2 separate regions of the Homo sapiens genome follow, and region 2 is linked to region 1. The links are contacts of gene promoters, found by promoter capture Hi-C in human tissues and cell types (Jung and others, 2019). All regions are on one chromosome and are shown on one strand. Each heading gives the region's core, a stretch centred on a gene start or on the middle of the fragment in contact. The rest is flanking DNA. Distances are from core to core; before and after follow the strand shown.

Region 1 (4,423 bases), core at 320-2,819:
TGAGCCGGGGCCAGAGCCAGTGTCAGGCCCCCTGATCCTTGGAAACCTGTCTTCTCAACTCTGCAAGAAGTTTAATGATCATTCCTGCCTCACCGTGAGGGTGGTGAGGGCCGGGGATGTGCAGTTACCAGCACCCTCTGGGCTCAGACAGAGAAACCAGACTGGCTCCTACTGCAGGCTGCCTCCCCTCCCCAGGGCTGCTCTCATCCTGCCTCTTTCATCTTGGGTTTAATTAGCCAGGCTGCCTCACCCCACAGCCTCTTGGGTGGGAGTTATCACTCCCATTTTATAGATGGGGAAACTGAGGCACCTAGAGGGAAGTAGTTTGGGGCTGCTGCCTGTGAGTCAACTGTGGAGCCAGGGCCTAGAGGAGCCGGGACCGGGCCTTCTGGCTGGACCTGTCCCTCCGAGTGGGTCTCTATCTCTCCATCCCCAAGGGCACCCAGACAGCCTCCTTTTTGGCACTCTCCACCCCTCAACTCTCCACCACCTCCCATCTGGAGCAGGATGGGGTAGGGAGAGGCCAGCTGGCACTGGCTTGCATGGGGGCTCAGGCCTGTTTCATCTTCAAAGCGGCTAATTGGAGCCAGAGGGGTGGTGAGGTTTGGGCGCCGGCGGTTCTGTGCCCTGGAAACCGGTGGTCTGTGGGGCACCTGCAACCTGGGCCTCTGGCCTGGGAGAGACCGCCGCCCAGACCCCCGAATGCCCCCAAACAGCCAGAATCCAGCCCACTGAAGTCTGGAGTGCTGGGTTCCGGCCCGGCTTGGCCCCAGATCTCGGTTGGCAAGGCCGCCCTCCTCCTGGGCCTGTTTTCCCCATCGCTAGGCATGCCTCGAGCCCCGTGACCGGCCAGGCCCTGACAGCCCGCACTTCCCGAGTATGGATCCCGTTGTTTTCGACTTAGGGCCCTGCCCCGCCCTCGCCGTCACGACCCCTGCGGGCCGCCAGCGCGGCCTCGGGCAAACAAAGGTCAGAAGCTCCTGGCTGGCCGCAACCGCGGCGCCGGCTCCTCGCCCCCAAGCCGAGCGGGCTGGGGGCCCGGGCAGGCGTCAGGGAAGCGAAGCCAAGCCCTGCGGCGCCCGCCGGACCGGTTCAGCTGGGGCGCTTTTCCTGCGGGCGCCCTGCGACCGCACCTTGGTCACCCCCAGGGGCCACTCCGGGAGCCCCAGGACCCGCACCCACGCCCCCCGGGGCCGCGCGTCTGGCGCAGGGTGCGGTGTGCCCGGGCGCCGGCGGGGGGCGCGCTGGCTGCCGCCCTGCGCGGCTTGGCGGGCGCTGGTGGGACCGGGCCGCTGTCCGCCGAGGGCCGCGGGATCGCAGCCCTGCGCCGCGGTACCCGGCATCTGGGGCCCAGGCCCACCCCGCTCCGCCACCCCTACCCACTCCCCTCCGCCTTTCCTGCCCCGGCCTGCGGCGGTTTCGGGGAAGGGGGCCTGCGCGGCGGGACAGTTAGTCAGCCCCCGCGAAACCTGCGAGTCGACACCTGCGGGAGGCGGTGGCCCCGTTACGCCCCGCCCCTCCCCGCCCGGACTCGGCCGCCCCCGCGCCGCGCCCCGCCCCGCGCCGCCAGCCCGGAAGGAGCCGGCCGGCCTGAGTGCCCGCGGCGGCTGAGTCAGGCGGCGAGCGCGGCCCGTTACCGCCGGCGCCGGGGGCCGGGGTGGCGCTGTGGTTTCGGTGCGGGCCGCGGGCGGGAGGGAGGCGGCCTAACGAGCTCTCGGCACGCACCCTCCCCCGCCCTGCTCCTGTCCTGTCCCGCGAGGGCCCCGGCGCCCAGCTCTGGCGTCGGCCCCGAGAGCCCTGGTCTCACCGTGGGAGCCGGGCGCGGGTCCCGCCGGCATCTGCGCGGCGTCTGGGGGTGACCGCAGCCCCTCGGGGTCGGCAGCGGGCCCCGCGCTCCCGGTGGCTGCGGCCTGAGGGTCCCTCTTCCCTGCGCAGGGGCCCGCGCGCCTCACCATGGGGCCCCTGAGCCGGGACGCCTGGGCCCAGCGCTTGGGGGCCTTCCGGGCCAGCCCGTCTGCCTTCATGGCAGGTCCCGAGGGGGAGGATTTGGGTCGCGACCTGCTGAGCGACCTGAGAAGTGAGAAGCTGAGCGAACAGACCAAGGTAGGCCCCCACGCGTCCCCTGCGCCGTTCCGCAGGGTCACCCCAGCCCGCCGCGTCATGAACCTCATCTTCGTGATTCCCTCCTAATCCCCCATCCAGGTTTCCCTGCTGGCCCTGAGCATGGAGTACCCTGCGCAGCTGTGGCCCGACGCCTCTGCGGCCGAAGTGGCCGCCACCTCCCTGTTGGACACCTTGGTCCTCCTACCCCCGCGGCCCTCAGCTCTCCGTCGGCCACTGCTGCTGGCGGCCACCACTGCCCTGGCGGCGGGCGGCGCGCTGGGCCCCACCTCGGGCGCCTCCTGCCGGCTCCTGCCCCTACTGCTCGGCCTGGCCGCGGGTAGCGATCTGGGGCGAGGCTTTGTCCCCGCCTCGGAACAGCGCCCCTTGCAGGCCACGGCCTGCGAGTGCCTGCGAGAGCTAGAGAGCTGCAAGCCCGGGCTGCTGGGGGGCTCCCTGGGGTTGCTGCGGGGCCTGCTGGGGCAGGAAGGCCCTGTCCAGCCACTCAGCCTGTTGCTGGCCCTCGCTTTGCGCAACACCTTGGTGCTCCAGTCCCGGGTTGGGGCTGGCCTGGGGGGACTGCTCACGGATAAGGTCTCCCCAACTGGGGGTGGTCCCTGGGATTGGACACTAGTGGAGGAGGGCGATGGACGCCTTCAGCCCCAGGCACCCAGCTGGCCGGCAGCTGAGGAGGGAGAGGGGGAGCGTAGCCTTACAGCACGAGAGCACAGCCCTGAGGAGGCGCGGGAGCTGCGGGCTGCGGTGATCCAGCTTCTGGACACCTCCTATCTGCTCACTCCTGTGGCCCAGGCCCAGCTCCTGTGGCTGCTGGGCTGGGCCCTGCGGGGTCTGCAGGGACAGCCACCGGCACTCTTCAAGCCGCAGCTGGTACGGCTGCTAGGCACAGCACAGCTGACACTGTTGCACGCCATGCTTGCGCTCAAGGCGGCCTTTGGTGAGGCCTTGTTCACAGCCCAGGATGAAGCGTTGCTGCTCCGCCGGCTCACCTTGGCTGCCCAGCACCCTGCTCTGCCTCCGCCCACCCATCTCTTTTACCTTCACTGCGTCCTGAGCTTCCCTGAGAACTGGCCGCTGGGCCCTGAAGGTGAGGAGGCTGCCCCACTGCTGCTAGGGCCCCAGCTATGCCGTGGTCTCCTGCCCAGTCTCCTGCATGACCCAATGGCCCTCCTGGCCCGCCTGCATTTACTGTGCCTGCTCTGTGCCGAGGAGGAAGAAGAGGAGAAAGGCCAGCTTCCAAGCCCACGGCACTACCTGGAAGAGCTGCTGGCTGGCTTGCGGCAGCGGGCAGCCCTGGATGGGGGCCCCCGGGCCTTGGCCACTCTCTGCTTCCAGGCCTCGTATCTGGTGGCCTGCTGCCTGGCTGGGCAACCTACGGTGCTGACCCCCTTGATCCACGGACTGGCCCAGCTGTACCAAGCCCGGCCCATGCTGGCTCCCCACTTTGTGGACCTCTTGGATCAGGTGGACTCTGAGCTGAGGGAGCCCCTGAAGGTGGTGTTGCGGCAGGTGGTGGTGTCCAGGCCGGGCAGGGATGAAGCTCTTTGCTGGCACCTGCAAATGCTGGCAAAGGTGGCAGATGGAGATGCCCAGAGTGCTACCCTCAACTTTCTACAGGCCGCGGCTGCCCACTGCACGAACTGGGACCTACAGCAGGGCCTGCTGCGGGTCTGCCGGGCGCTGCTGCGGGCAGGGGTGAGGGGCGGCCTGGTCGACTTGCTGCAGGTGCTGGCCAGGCAGCTGGAGGACCCTGATGGGCGTGACCACGCCCGCCTCTACTACATCCTGCTGGCACACCTGGCAGCACCCAAGTTGGGGGTGGCCCTGGGCCCCTCGCTTGCCGCACCTGCACTGGCCTCTTCACTGGTGGCCGAGAACCAGGGCTTTGTGGCAGCACTGATGGTGCAGGAGGCACCGGCCCTGGTACGGCTGAGCCTGGGGTCCCATCGGGTCAAGGGCCCACTCCCAGTGTTGAAGCTCCAGCCGGAGGCGCTGGAGCCCATCTACTCTCTGGAGCTGCGCTTCCGTGTGGAAGGACAGCTGTATGCACCCCTGGAGGCTGTCCATGTGCCCTGCCTGTGTCCTGGCCGCCCTGCCCGCCCTCTGCTCCTGCCTCTGCAGCCCCGATGCCCGGCCCCCGCACGGCTGGATGTCCATGCCCTTTACACCACATCCACTGGTCTCACGTGCCATGCCCACTTGCCACCCCTGTTCGTGAACTTTGCCGACCTCTTTCTGCCTTTCCCGCAGCCTCCAGAGGGGGCCGGGCTGGGCTTCTTTGAGGAGCTCTGGGATTCCTGCCTGC
Region 2 (4,633 bases), core at 349-2,848, 34 kb before region 1:
AAACCGGAGCCTGAGGCCGGGCGCGGTGGCTCACGCCTGTAATTCCAACACTTTTGGAGGCCAAGGCAGGTGGATCACGAGGTCAGGAGTTCAAGACCAGCCTCGCCAAGATGGTGAAACCCTGTCTCTACTAAAAATACAAACATTAGCTGGGCGCAGTGGCAGGCAGCTGTAATCCCAGCTACTTGGGAGGCTGAGGCAGGAGAATCGCTTGAACCTGGGGGGCAGAGATTGTGCCACTGCACTCCAGCCTGGATGACAGAGTGAGACTCCATCTCAAAAAAAAAATTAAATTAAAAATAAAAGTAGAAAAATTGGAGCCTGTGCAGCTCTCCTGAGGGCAGATGCATAAAGCTGGGTGCGCCCCTCCAGCCTGCTGGGTCCCACAGAAGCTCAAGAGGCAGGGGCCATGTCTTTCACCACTTGTCACTGCTATAATTCCCTGTTTAGAACTCTCAGTGAGTGTCAGATCAACACATTCATCCACCATATCCCGTGTGTATAAGAACAATCCATCACTCCTGACCTAATCCAGCACAGAACAGAACTTCTGGAAGAGGACTAAAGAAGAGAAAGAGTGGAAGTGTCACATGCCCAGAGGAAAATAGATGCGACAGAGATGAATAAAACAAAACAAAACAAAAGGAAGAAAGCCAAGCTAATCTGGGAGTTCCATCACGGCTAAGAACGCATCTTTGTTTTGTCACGCGGTTTCTAGCCCGGCTCAGACCTGGGCTGCGGCACCTCAGGCATCTCCTTTCATCTCTCGGCTTTTCTCCTGGCTCCCGGGCGCTTCTCGAGACTTTTTGGACCTGGACTGGTCCATGGCAGAACACCTCTTTCCTGAGTCCTCCCTATGCACCTGCCCAAAGCGGGGGATTGGGGTGGCACTCTCCAAGATGCCAGGCTCCTCAAATGGAGCCATCACCCCCTAGGCTGTACTTGGCATTGTCTCCAAGGAGCCTGGGGAGGTAACCGGTTGGGGACTGATTCACTTGGGAGGGAGGGAGCGAGTGCAGATTGCAGATGCTATCTAGTCGGGCCAAGTCAACCTGGGGAAGGGCAGGTCTGTGTCTCAACTGGTTTAGGGGTGGGAGAGTGGGATTGGAACTTTTACACCTTGCATTCTTAGGACGTCACAATGGTTTTCCCAAGGCCTCCTTATCTGAGGGTGTTTACCTATTCAACCAGCATACGCAGGTTCAGGACTCCCACTTTGTCCGGGTTCTGTCCTCACAGGCACAGGAAGATTAATGCGAACAACAGGGTCTGACAAACCAAAACTCACAGATAAGAGACTTGGGTTATTAGGGCAGATGCCAGAAGTCATGGGATCTTCACGGGGTGGCTGTAGGCTGAGCAATCTCCCTCGGGATGTGAGGGGGTGTATTTCTGCGTTATTGGTCATTGAGAAATTCCCTAATCTTAGAGAGAAAAGGAATGAAACCAAGGGCTTGAATCGGAGTATACGTAGTTGACCTAATTATAAGGTTGTCCATCCATCTGTTTAATAAATAGTTCCATGATGTGGGACGGCAAGGTCACTCATAGCCCTGAACATTAACAACGTTTTCCTAAGGTTCTGGAAAAAAAGTGGTAACCATGTGTTCAGCTGCAGGCTTGTTCTGTCTCAGGCCTCAGGCTGACATGAATCAGAAATAGAGGGAAATGTGGAAGTGGCATTGCAAATATTAGTTCTAAAAACGGACTGGGAAGAGAGAGTGCCTCTAGACCCAGTCATGGCCTAGCCAAGCCCCAGAAGAATGACATCACCCATTGTGCCTCGTGGGGAGCCCCTGAGGCTGTCATGGATTTGTAGTCCTATGTGGGACAGCGCTGCTGACGCGGTTATTTCCTGCACTAGACCTACCCTGTCAGCAAGACACTGTTTACATGAGCTGAGTGCCAAGTTGCGGCACATTATGCACAATCGCTTTTAAGTTCAATTAAATTAACGTTTAGAAACATTGTAGATAGAAAAAGCTAAAGAGCATTTTAGCAAACAGTGATTACCTAGAGATGCAAGTGCTTTGAATTTGAGCATTAGAGAACTTGTGAATTTGTAGGAGTTAAGCAGGACAAGTACCCATCTAATGAATGTTCATAAGGGAAGCGCGCGTGTAGGAGGCATTTCAGGTAGCCCAGCGCAGACCAAGGAGGGAAGGAAACAGATAAGATGTCAGAAAACATCTTCAAATACCCAGAGTTGTTATCCCCTCCACGAAACATTGGAGGGCGAATTGTTTGGGTCAGTAAAATAGAATCATAAAGTGTGAAGAAGAAACCTGTGGAACATTCTGGAAGAATTGGTCAGAGATGGGCCGGGCGTGGTGGCTCACACCTGTAATCCCAGCACTTTGGGAGGCCGAGGTGGGTGGATCACCTGAGGTCAGGAATTCAAGACCAGACTAGCCAACATGATGAAACCCCGTCTCTACTAAAAATACACAAAATTAGCCGGGCGTTGTGGTGGGCGCCTGTAATCCTAGCTACTCAGGAGGCGGAGGCAGGAGAATTGCTTGAACCCGGGAGACAGATTGCAGTGAGCTGAGATTGCGCCACTGCAGTCCAGCCTGGGCAACAAGAGCGAAACTCCATCTCAAAAAAAGAAAAAAAAAAAAAAAGAATTGGTAAGAGATGAATACCCCATCACAGCCTCTTTGATTTCAGAGGTGAAATAGTTGAACCCCAGACCTCACTGTCAGATGTAAAGAGTCACTCCAAATTTATAAGCTCATTAAACTAGTATTTCTGACCGTTTACACATTTGGCTGTAGAGAAAATACACAGAATGCTTCCAGCCACACCTATGCCTACTCAAGCCACTTAGCTGACAAGCCACTTAGCTTTTTCTTCTAATTACTCGGGTGCGCGTCTCTGTTATTTACAAAGTTTGGTGAAGTCAGGGCAGGGGGAATTTATGGTTCGATACCCTTTCTAGCACAGAGGGGTAAAATTCAGCCTGTCTTTTGAAATCAGTCTGAACTGTCAAACTCCCAGTTGAGGACTCCTCTCCCCAAATCAGGAATCTTTTTTGTTTTCTCTGGCTATGGGCCACAGTCAGGGCTTTGGAGTTCATTTGTATGCCCTCCCCCATCCCCATTAGTGTTATTGTGTATATTTGAGGTACTTATTCTTCACTGACCATAGGTGAATAGGAGCTGGTTCACCTAAAAGCTCCCACTCCCCATTCACTTTTTTTTTTTTTTTTTTTTTTTTGAGATGGAGTCTTGCTCTGTTGCCCAGGCTGGAGTGCAGTGGTGAGATCTTGGCTCAATGCAACCTCTGCTTCCCAGGTTCAAGCGATTCTCCTGTCTCAGCCTCCTGGGTAGCTGGAATTACATGTGCCCACCACCACACCCGACTAAGTTTTCGTATTTTTAGCAGAGACGGGATTTCATCATATTGGTCAGGCTGGTGTCGAACTCCTGACGTCAGCTGATCCACCTGCCTTGGCCTCCCAAAGTGCTGGGATCGCAGGTGTGAGCCACCGCACCCAGCCCCCATTCACTTTTGTTTTAGGAAATGAGAAAGCTTCTGCCTTTTTTCTTTCCTTCCTTCCTTGGATGTTAGTTAAGATCAGTGAGGTAATGGTGATAAAGTACTTTGAATTACCTCAAGGAGAGTGCAGCCCAACTTGTTATTATTTACCTAGGTCAGTTCACAAACCCCCACGATCTAGGGTTCCTGTCTCCTGCCCTGGGGATGGTGCCTGGGAGAAAGGAGATGTCACAGACCCAGTCCCACAGGGCGCTGTTGGCTGGAGTTGGTCATTCCTTACTTTGACATCAACAGGCTTATCTCTAGAAATAGGCTAAATGGTAGCTCAGGCGCCGGTGTTGCCTCATCCCGCAAACTCCCAGGGAGGCTGCCTACTTCCAGCCCCTGTTCTGGGAACTAATGATAGGTGGGATGAAAAGACTGTTTCCTCTGATGCGCTTTTATGAGTTGTTTTCGAAGATGAGGTGGCAAGGACATGGTTAACCCGCTCCCTTGTGCAGGGAGACATCAGAATGACAGGGCACGGGGAATCTCCCCAACCCGTTCCCAGGAGAGCTCTTGCCGAGGACGGCCCAGCTGTTAGCCAGAAATCAAGGCAGCCTCAAGCCCTGTAACCCAGATATCAGTGGGCTTTTTCGGCTGACGGTGCTGTGGCCTGCGGCAGGCGGCAGTGTGGGTAGAGGACAGCTGTGGCTGAGGCCGGCAGCTCTTTCCACACGACTTCTTGGGTAATGGCTCTTCTTAAGCCTGTGATATTTAGGGATTGTCAAACTTCCCTTTCATCCTGAGCCACCTTCCCTCATGGGTAGCAGAGGAGTTGGATTTCTTTCTTTTCTTTTCTTTTTTCTTTTTCTTTTTCGACAGAGTCTTGCTCTGTCGCCCAGGCTGGAGGGCAGTGGTATGATCTCTGCTCACTGCAACCTCCACCTCCCGGGTTCAAGTGATTCTTCTGCCTCAGCCGCCCGAGTAGCTGGGATTACAGGCACGCACCACCACGCCCAGCTAATTTTTGTATTTTTAGTAGAGATGGGGTTTCACCATGTTGGTCAGGCTGGTCTCGAACTCTTGACCTCAGGTGATCCACCTGCCTTGGCCTCCCAAAGTGCTGGGATTACAGGCGTGAGCCACCAAG

The links. Contacts are between HindIII fragments. The study calls those that stand out against the background at their distance.
Region 2: a contact is called between a fragment that was not itself captured here and the fragment with the promoter of AP5B1 in region 1, in 3 of the 25 tissues and cell types used here (dorsolateral prefrontal cortex, lymphoblastoid cells and spleen).

The regions. Positions count from the first base shown.
Region 1 is chr11:65,778,122-65,782,544 of GRCh38, reverse strand. AP5B1 (adaptor related protein complex 5 subunit beta 1) reads left to right here and starts at 1,569. Exons shown (of 2, transcript NM_138368.5): 1 at 1,569-2,103; 2 at 2,203-4,423. The coding sequence starts at 1,954. RefSeq lists enhancers at 198-855, 1,585-2,487, 4,296-4,423 and silencers at 1,116-1,855, 1,896-2,075, 2,226-2,495. The HindIII fragment of the contact is 21,769 bases long and covers 1-4,423 here.
Region 2 is chr11:65,811,494-65,816,126 of GRCh38, reverse strand. The region is part of intron 3 of LOC124902693; the gene reads left to right. Among named protein-coding and RNA genes, the nearest start is that of SNX32, 20 kb to the left of the region's middle. The HindIII fragment of the contact is 6,430 bases long and covers 1-4,633 here.